Linked DNA regions of Homo sapiens: region 2 is linked to region 1. Evidence: promoter capture Hi-C in human tissues and cell types (Jung and others, 2019). All regions are on one chromosome and are shown on one strand. The core of a region is centred on a gene start or on the middle of the fragment in contact, and the rest is flanking DNA. Distances in the headings are between cores, read along the strand shown.

The links. Contacts are between HindIII fragments. The study calls those that stand out against the background at their distance.
Region 2: a contact is called between a fragment that was not itself captured here and the fragment with the promoter of PRKCZ in region 1, in 7 of the 25 tissues and cell types used here (H1 embryonic stem cells, IMR-90 fibroblasts, dorsolateral prefrontal cortex and 4 more).

The regions. Positions count from the first base shown.
Region 1 is chr1:2,048,015-2,052,543 of GRCh38, forward strand. It overlaps PRKCZ (protein kinase C zeta), which reads left to right and starts at 2,397. Exons shown (of 18, transcript NM_002744.6): 1 at 2,397-2,687. The coding sequence starts at 2,617. PRKCZ-DT (PRKCZ divergent transcript) reads right to left here and starts at 2,056. Exons shown (of 3, transcript NR_135509.1): 1 at 1,854-2,056; 2 at 1,584-1,652; 3 at 1,187-1,454. RefSeq lists an enhancer at 1-39 and a silencer at 1,975-2,584. The HindIII fragment of the contact is 14,073 bases long and covers 170-4,529 here.
Region 2 is chr1:1,989,865-1,994,631 of GRCh38, forward strand. It overlaps CFAP74 (cilia and flagella associated protein 74), which reads right to left. Exons shown (of 39, transcript NM_001304360.2): 2 at 1,026-1,111. The coding sequence starts at 1,092. Among named protein-coding and RNA genes, the nearest start is that of CFAP74, 12 kb to the right of the region's middle. The HindIII fragment of the contact is 5,694 bases long and covers 1-4,767 here.

The DNA.
Region 1 (4,529 bases), core at 1,147-3,646:
GCTGCCTCCTTGGATCAGAACGCCAGCCAGGAAGTCCTGTGGGTGCCCAGTGGCCCCTTCCAGGCACCGCCCCACTAAGGTGAAACCCTGCTCTTTCCTGCCCATCAGGAAGCGCCCAGGCCATGTTGCCAGGCCAGACTCCAGACAAGGCCACAGCCCTGGCCATGGGGCCTGGAGTGGGGGAGCTGGGCCGACGGGTGCCTGAATCCAGGGCTGCTGCAGGTGCAGGTTCCCACTCATCACTGTACCCTGCCAGGCTGCCCCCTCACCCTCTACTCTCTGCCCCCCTTCATGCCCAGCTGATGGGCATGGGGCTTTGTGCCTGTGCGAGGGATAGAGGGGGTTGCCCCATGGAGATGGGGGTGAGGAGTAGATTGCTGAAATGGGCATTAGGTATGCTAGAGACTTCAAGGAAGTGTGGGTGCCAGTCCAGCAGATCTCTGCAGGCAGGTGCTCCTGGAAGAGGGAGTGGCTGTGCAAAGAGGGAGTGGCCGTGCAAAGACGGAGGCCGGGGCAGCAAAGAGGCCTCGAGGCCGGGGCAGAGGAGCTGGCCTTCCCTCCAGGAGTGATGGGAACCACTGGGGGGACTTCGATGACCCAGAAAGATGGAGTGGGGGAAGACGTCAGCTGAGAGGCTCATTAGGAGGATGCCTGGGGCTGGGTGAGTGTTGGTTGGGAGCTCAGGGGGCCCATCTGAGCTGGGGATGCAAAGCGGGCCAAAGGCTGAGGCTGGGGCTCCACAGTTTTAAAAGCTGCAGACCAGGAGGGCGAGGGATGGGAGATTTAGGGAGCTGGAACCCGGGGCCAGGGATGTGTGAGCCTTCCCAGGAGGGGTCTGATACCAAAGGCCAAGTTAAGAAAATGTCTGAGGCCGGGCACAGTGGCTCACGCCTGTAATCCCAGCACTTTGGGAAGCCAAGGCAGGTGGATCACCTGAGGTCAGGAGTTCGAGACCAGCCTGGCCAATATGGAAAAACCCCGTCTCTACTAAAAATACAAAAATCAGCTGGGCATGGTGGTGGACACCTGTAATCCCAGCTACTTGGGAGACTGAGGCAGGAGAATGGTTTGAACCCAGGAGGCAGAAGTTGCAGTGAGCCGACATCATGCCATTGCACTCAGCCTGGGCAGCAAGAGCGAAACTCCATCTCAAAAAAAAGAAAAAGAAAGAAAAAAAGAGAAAACGTCTGAGAACCGACGGCTTGTATTTAAAACGTGTGAGTGGGTGGTGGCAGGAGAGGTAGACAGGGAGCAGGGCCGGCTTGGCGGAAGCTTTGCTGTAGAGAGGGGCAGAGATGGCTCGGTGGGTGGAGGGAGGGGCAAACGGTGTTTAAGAAGAAAAAACGACAGCTTCTGCGTAGGAGAGGGGCCTCCTGTCCATCTCCAGGGAGAACATGGGTTCTGTGGCCACAGGTCTCCCCAGGGCCTGGCATCAAGGAGGCGCCAGGCACGACCTGCGGGATGAAAGCACGTGGCTGAAGTCCTGGTGGCTGTGTCTGGGTGAGGGGTGTGAGGGCGTGGCCTGAGCAGGTCCACTCTCAGGGGAGAGGGGCCGAGGCCAGGAACTGGGTCTGGGTGTCCACCTGGTGCCTGGGTGAGGTCCTGCAGGCAGCAGGTCTGGGCTTCAGTGGATGCAGCCAGTAAGGGATGGGCTGATCAGGGAAAACCGTATTTTCAGGGGAGGAGCCCAGGAGGCAGGGAGCTGGGCGGCGGTGGAGGGGCCTGGAGGGCGATTGTCCAGATCAAGCCCCTCGAGTAAGGCCCGAGAGGCTGTGGCTTCAGAAATGAAGGTCATGGGCGACTCGGGCCAATGCCGCGTCCTTGACCTGGGCGAAGTGAGCGGTTGCACTCACGAGTGTGGACGGCCCTTCCCTACAGGGGACCTTGGATTCGCTGGGGGCGGAGTGGGGGCTGGGGCCCAGAGAACCCGAGTCCGGACGCTCCCGTCCGTGACCCTGGCCGGGTTCTCCGCTCCTCGCAGCTTCAGTCCGCAAGTGTGAGATGTCAGGGGACCCCTGGACGGCGGGGCCCTCGGGCTGGCAGCGCGCGCCGCAGGAGTTTCGATTCGGAGGGTCTGGGCGAAGGCCGAGAACTCGCGTTTCCAGCGAGTTCCCGGGGGCGCCGCTCCGTCCCAGAGGCCGGGGCCCCTCCGGTTGCCGGGCAGAGCCGCGCCGCGCGCGGTCCCATTGGCGCAGGTGCGCCGCGCCCCGCCCAACAGGTAGCCCCGCCCGACAGGTAGCCCCGCCCGCGCCTCGCCATTGGGCCGCGGCCGGGTGTCCCCCGAGGATTGGCCCAGGTGGCGGCCCCGCCTCGCCCTCATTGGCCGCAGGTGCCACCGCCCGCCCCGGGACCGCCCGCCCCGCGGATTGGCCGCTGGCTCCACCTCGGTCCGCCATGTTCGGACACCGCCCCCCGCCCCCGCCGGACGGTCCCGCCCCGCGCGCCCCCCGCTCCCGCCCCGCGCGCCGCCGGAGTTCCGCGGAGTTGACCGGGTCGGCGCCGTCGGTCCTGAGCGCTGCCTTCCGCGTTCCGCCGCGGCCCCACCTGGAGCCCCCGCCCCGCGCCATGGCCGGAGCTCCCGGGGCGCAGCGCTGACGGCGGCGGGGGGAGCGCGCCATGCCCAGCAGGACCGGCCCCAAGATGGAAGGGAGCGGCGGCCGCGTCCGCCTCAAGGCGCATTACGGGGGGTGAGCGGCGGAGAGGGCGGGGAGCGGCGCGGGTGAGGCAGGGAGGGCGGGGAGGGCTCAGCCGTCGGGGCTCCTGCGCGAGAGGGAGAGAGGGAAGGGGCGGCGAGGTCGCTGCGGGCCCGGGGCTGTCGCGGGAGGTCCTCGGTCCCCGCCCGTGAGCGTCACCCGCGGACACGTCGTGGACAGCGCGGGCTCCTTCCCCGGGACCGGGTTTCCCTGGGGTCGGCCCCGCGCCGCGAGCTCCTCGGCCCGGTCATTGTGGTAGACGTTTTCGCTGGAAAGTTGGGCGGGGACGTTCCGGCCGCAAACCTGTAAGGACTGAAAGTTTTCATCAAGTTGTGAAAACTCCTGGCGGGTTTCTTAAAATCAGCGTTTCCTAAACGTTCTCCACGTTTACCCGGTCGGGGGTCTCGCTTTAGCCAAAATCCGGAGACCCGGGGCGCGGGCGCTGTGGCTCCAATGCAGCCCCCGGCAGGGCTCGGGGCGGTCGGGCGGGGACAGGGGTTTCTGGAGGAGACGGTGGGGCCGAGACTGACCCTGGGGTTTGCGTCGCACCCGCCCCCCGGAGGCCCTTGCCTGGCTGTGGGAGGGGGCGCGGTCAGGTGCTGGAGCGGAGGGGTCCTGGACTCTTGGCCGCCGCCTCGGGGCAGCGCTGCTGGGGGTGGCGGGGGCTGCACCAGGTGGCCGGGCTCACAGGCACAGCGGAGGGGTCGCTGCCCCCCGAAGTGTGGGCGGTGGGGAGGGGAGGACCCGTGGGTTTGTTCTTCCACCTGTGCGCGTCTCCAGGAGCCCCGAACTGGGACCTCCGCTCCCGCGAGGGTGGCTGCTGCTGCAGAGAGGGAGGGGAGCAGAATGCGGGCTCCGGACTTGCACTGGCTGGTCCTTGGGATCTCGAAAAGCTGCTCCTGCCCCGGTGCGTCCTCAGCTACAGCGTGGGCAACCTGAGCCCCAGAGGCAGGGACGGCCGGCAGGGTTAGGCGGGTGACAACTTCCCCGGGCCACGTCCTCTCAGGACAGTGCCCCGGGGGTCTCTATGGTGCCCTGCGAGTCTGAGCGGGTTCAGCTTCCTGCGAACCTTGTCTTGGGGTCTCGGGTCAGCCATCTGGGGCTGCTTGGCCCCGGGTTTGTTGAGGAGGCTCAATTGTCTCTTCTTTGGGAAGGTTGGGGCCTCTGCAGCTCCCCTGTGGCAAGCACCTGGAACCTTCGGGGTGCAGTGGCCCGGGTTTGGTGCCAGAACCAGAAGAAAGGGATTTCTGGGGGACTGACCGTCCAGCCCTACCTGAAGAGGTAGGGCAGCCATGTCTTTTGGCCTGGAGGTCAGCAGGTTAAAACTTGGTATGGTTGACGTTCTGGCTATTGGACTTGTCCAGGGACCTGGGCTTCCTGTCTCCTTGCCATTCTGGAGCCACCACACTGGGCAACAGGTGATGGTGCGGAGCTCAGGGGAGTCCTGCGAGAGGGAGGTCCACACCCGAGGGGCTGCAGGGGCCCAGACCCTCCTGCATTCCGGCGTCCAATTCCTGGGACCAAGGCTCGGAGGCAATGCCACTGGAGTTCTGGGCCGCCCCGTCCTCCCTCTGCCTTGCTTTGGCCCCTGGGAGCACTTTGGTGGTGGGGCGGGTGTAATTCCACCCGGTGACTCTGGTTTCCCAGGCTGGAGAGACCAGGCTCCCACCCCTTCCTCTTCCCTCCCTTCCCGGACTCTCTCCCCTCTCTCCCCACCCCTTCCTCTTCCTCCCTCCTTCCCTGTTGTTTTCCCTCCTCTTCCCGCTCTCCCCTCTCTCCCTTCCCTGCCACACCTCTTCCTTCACCTTCCTCCCCCTTCTAGGGCACGTCTCCCCT
Region 2 (4,767 bases), core at 1,299-3,798, 58 kb before region 1:
CCGAGGAACCCTGAGGGTCCCTTAGTGTCCTTCAGGGCCTGTGAGGTGAAAACTGTCTTCATGATCACACTCGCACGCCATTTGTCTCCTCACTCTCTTCCCATGAGAGGACAGTGGCGTTTTCCAGAGGCTGCATGACAGGTGACGTCACAACAGACAGCTCTAAGACTCCAGCTGTCTTCCATTAAACCCAACTCTTAACGTTACTGCCAATAGGTTCGTTATTGCTATTTTAAGTGGCTACGTATTAAAATGTTTCCAGCTTTAATTTTTGATACAGTAAGTATGGAAAGATACAGGCAACATAAACAAATGTTCTCTGTGTCTTCAATAATTTTTAAGAATGTAAAGGGGTTCTCAGACAAAAGAGGCTGAAGGTCACTATCTCAGAAGATTACAGCGGACTTCCGGCAAAACACGGCAAAGGGAACACAGTTTTTCTTCCCTTCATTAAATCTCAGTAAAAATGATGGAAAAGGCAGAAAGCCACAGTCACAAGGGGGGCGGGAGAGGGAGACAGTGGCGGGGGGCAGGGGGGAGAAGGCCACACAGCGCCAGGAGCTGACTCAGCACACAACAGAACCCAAAACGGGGTGGGGAGTGGGGTGGGGGTGGGAAGGAAATGCGTTCCCAGATTGCGATGGCCTGCCTGTGCCCAGAACTAGAACCAAATCAAGGCACGTCTCAGTAACATTTCAGATCATCAGAGATTTTTTAAAAACAGCTTCCAGGAAAAGAAAACAAAAATAGGTCACATTCAAAGGATTGGGATAAAAATGGCATCAGATTTCTCAATACTGATGTTGGAAACTAGAAAACTATGGTCTGCCGCCTTCAACATCTCAGCCACAATTTATCTTTCTTTCAAATAAAGACAATAATATAAGCTCCCTCTTTGAGAGAAAAATATGAGTGTAAAAGATACCCTCTCCCAGAAATAAAGGGAATTAAAGGGCTACTATGAAGCATGTCATTTGTTTGTCTTTTTGCTGAAACTTCCGTTACTGTGAAAGAAGCTTTATTACCATCTTCCAAAAGAAGGGCATCGGCCAAAAGCTCGTCCTCAGGGAGCAGGCTGCCGTCATCCTCCATGCTGGGAGATAGAAATTAGCTGCAAAAGATGATCGCAAAATATAGATCAATAAAATCATAGATTTAAAAGACGGTGAATTAACCATTTCTCTTAAAGAAGGCATTAAGAAAACAAACGACAGATTAGGAAAAAATATTTGCAGCACACACATATCTGACACAAGTCTTACATCTGGAACACATGAAGAGCTCCTATCAACCACATGAAGTCCAAACTCCAGTTTAAAAGGTCAAAGAGGCCGGGCGCGGTGGCTCATGCCTGTAATCCCAGCACTTTGGGAGGCCGAGGCAGGTGGATCACCTGAGGTCAGGAGTTCCAGACCAGCCTGGCCAACGTGGTGAGGCTACAGTGAGCTGTGATGGCACCACTGCACTCCAGCCTGGGCAACAGAGTGAGACCCTGTCACAAAAGAAAAAAGAAACTGCCCAACAGTATCCTCGAGTATCACTTTACACTCCCACCAGCAAATACCAAATTAAAATAATGAAATACAACATTAGCTGGGTGTGGTGGCGCATGCCTATAATCCCAGCTACTCAGGAGGCTGAGGCAGGAGAATTGCTTGAACCCGGGAGGCAGAGGTTGCAGTGAGCCGAGATAGTGCCACTGCACTCCAGCCTGGGGACAAGAGCGAGACTCCATCTCAAGAAAAAAATGTCAAAAGATTTGGAATTCCATAAGAAAAGAGATATACAAATGGCCAATATGCATGTGAAACTGTGTAACATCAGTATCTTTAAGGAAATATGAATCAAGCCATAATGAGATACTATTATATACTGAGTAGAATGCCTGAGATTGGCTGGGCGTGGTGGCTCACACCTGTAATCCCAGCACTTTGGGAGGCCAAGGTGGGCGGATCACGAGGTCAGGAGATCGAGACTATCCTGGCTAGCACAGTGAAACCCCATCTCTACTAAAAAACAGAAAAAATTAGCCGGGCATGGTGGCAGGCGCCTGCGGTCCCAGCTACTCGGGAGGCTGAGGCAGGAGAATGGTGTGAACCCAGGAGGCGGAGCTTGCAGTGAGCCGAGATCGCGCCACTGCACTCCAGCCTGGGTGACAGAGCGAGACTCCGTCTCAAAAAAAAAAAAATGCCTGAGATCAAAACGCTGCCAACAGTGAGCACTGGCAAGGCTATGGAAGGGCTGGCATCGTCACGCGTTGCTGGTGGGAGTGTAAAGGGATACTCTGGAACACTGTTGGGCAATTTCTGTTTTCTTTTGTGACAGGGTCTCACTCTGTTGCCCAGGCTGGAGTGCAGTGACACAATCACAGTTTACTACAGCCTCAAACTTCTGGGCTCAAGCAATCTTCCCGCCTCAGCTTCACAAGTGCTAAGACTACACGCACATGCCGCCATGCCCAGGTAATTTTCAAATTATTGGTTGAGATGGTGGGTCTCTCTTTGTTGCCCAGGCTAGTCTTGAACTCCTGGTCTCAGCCAGGATTCACCCACCTCAACCTCCCAAAGTGCTGGGATTACAAGCTTGAGCCACTACATCTGGCACCAAAAACAATTTTTTTTTTTTTGGAGATGAAGTCTCGCTCAGTCTCCCAGGCTGGAGTGCAGTGGCGGGATCTTGGCTCACTGCAAGCTCTGCCTCCTGGGTTCACGCCCCTCTCCTGTCTCAGCCTCCCGAGTAGCTGGGACTACAGGCGCCCACCACTACGCCCAGCTAATTTTTTTGTATTTTTATTAGAGATGGGGTTTCACTGTGTTAGCCAGGATGGTCTCGATCTCCTGACCTCGTGACCCACCTGTCTCGGCCTCCCAAAGTGCTGGGATTACAGGCGTGAGCCACCACGCCTGGCCCAAAAACAATTCTTAAATAATTTCAAAATTATCATTACACTTTGCTTATCATTTTGGGAATGTTAGGAGCTTGCTCGTGTGGAACTCTTGGTACCGAATCTTCTGTGTCCAGATGTTGGAACTAAATAATTTCACTTAAGAAACAGGCCGGGCACAGTGGCTCGCGCTTATAATCCCAGCACTTTGGGAGGCCAAGGTGGGCAGATCACTTGAGGTCAGGAATTTGAGACCAGCCTGGCCAGCATGGTGAAACCCCATCTCTACTAAAAATACAAAAACTAGCCAGGTATGGTGGCAGGCACCTGTAGTCCCAGCTACTTGGGAGGCTGAGGCCCGAGAATTGCTTGAGCCCAGGAGGCGGAGGTTGCAGTGAGCCGAGATCACGCCACTGCATTCTAGCCTGGGCGACAGGGGAAGACTGTCTCAAAAAAAAAAAAAAAAAAAAGAAACAATGTTAAAATCACAAACTCTTTACTTATTTTTTTCTGGTGAGAATTAAATTTAATGGCTAACTTTCTTTTATTTTTTTGAGACAGGGTTTGACTCTGTCACCCAGGCTGGAGTGCAGTGGTGCGATCACAGCTCACTGCAGCCTCCAACTCCTGGGCTCAATTGATCCTCCTGCTTCAGCCTCCCAAAGGAGCTGGGACTACAGGCACGCACCACCACACCCAACTGATTTTTGTATTTTCTGTAGAGACAGGGTTTTGCCATGTTGCCCAGGCTGGTCTCAAACTTTTGGGATCAAGTGATCCACCTGCCTTGGCCTTCCCAAGTGTTAGAACTAGAGGCGTGAGCCACCGTGCCCGGCCGGTGGCTGTTTTCTATTAGACCTTAAATATGTGATTGGTTTTAACGCCTATTAATCACATTGTGCTTGTACCATGATTAATATACAAAACAGCTGATGTCAAATGCTTATAAATCAGCAGGGCACAGTGGCTCACGCCTGCAATCCCAGCACTTTGGGAGGCCGAGGCAGGTGGATCACGAGGTCAGGAGATCGAGACCATCCTGGCTAACACAATGAAACCCCACCTCTACTAAAAATACAAAAAATTAGCCGGGCGTGGTGGCGGGCGCCTATAGTCCCAGCTACTCGGGAGGCTGAGGCAGGAGAATGGCGTGAACCCGGGAGGCGGAGCTTGCAGTGAGCCGAGATCACACCACTGCACTCCAGCCTGGGCGACAGAGCAAGACTCCGTCTCAAAAAAAATAAAAATAAAATAAAAATAAAAAAATGTAGCCAGGCGTGGTGGTGGGCACCTGTAGTCCCACCTATTCAGGAGGCTGCGGTGGGAGGATCACTTGAGCCCAGGAGGTCGAGGCTGCCGTGAGCTGTGATTGTGCCACTGCAGGCCAGCCTGGGTGACAGAGCAAGACCCTGACTCTAAAAGGGTTAAAAAAAAAAAAAAAAAAAGCTTTAAGTCAATGTACCTAGTATAGAGACAGACATTTAACATTGGGAATTAGCACTACCATTTTGCATTGAAATAATGAGTAATTCCGGGTGAAATGTACATAAATGTTGACATTATGTATGAGATGCTAAAACTGTAAAATTGTAGAGGACTGTGTTTCATTGCTTAACTTAGCAATCGCTTCAGAATAATTCACTAAAAATATTTTCAGTGCCTAGCAATGTTTCTTGGATAAATTATTAATGTATCAATGCCAGTAATTTTTTAAACTTACAAAGAAACAATTGCATTTTAAAGTCCTGGGAGGCAGAATTTTAAGGCATCTTGTAAAATTCCAACAATATTTTTTCCACTTGAAAGAACTGATTAAGCTGCTAGTCTTTGAATGGCAGGATTTTCAGAAACTATTTAGAAAATGGCCAAACCTATTCAGCTCT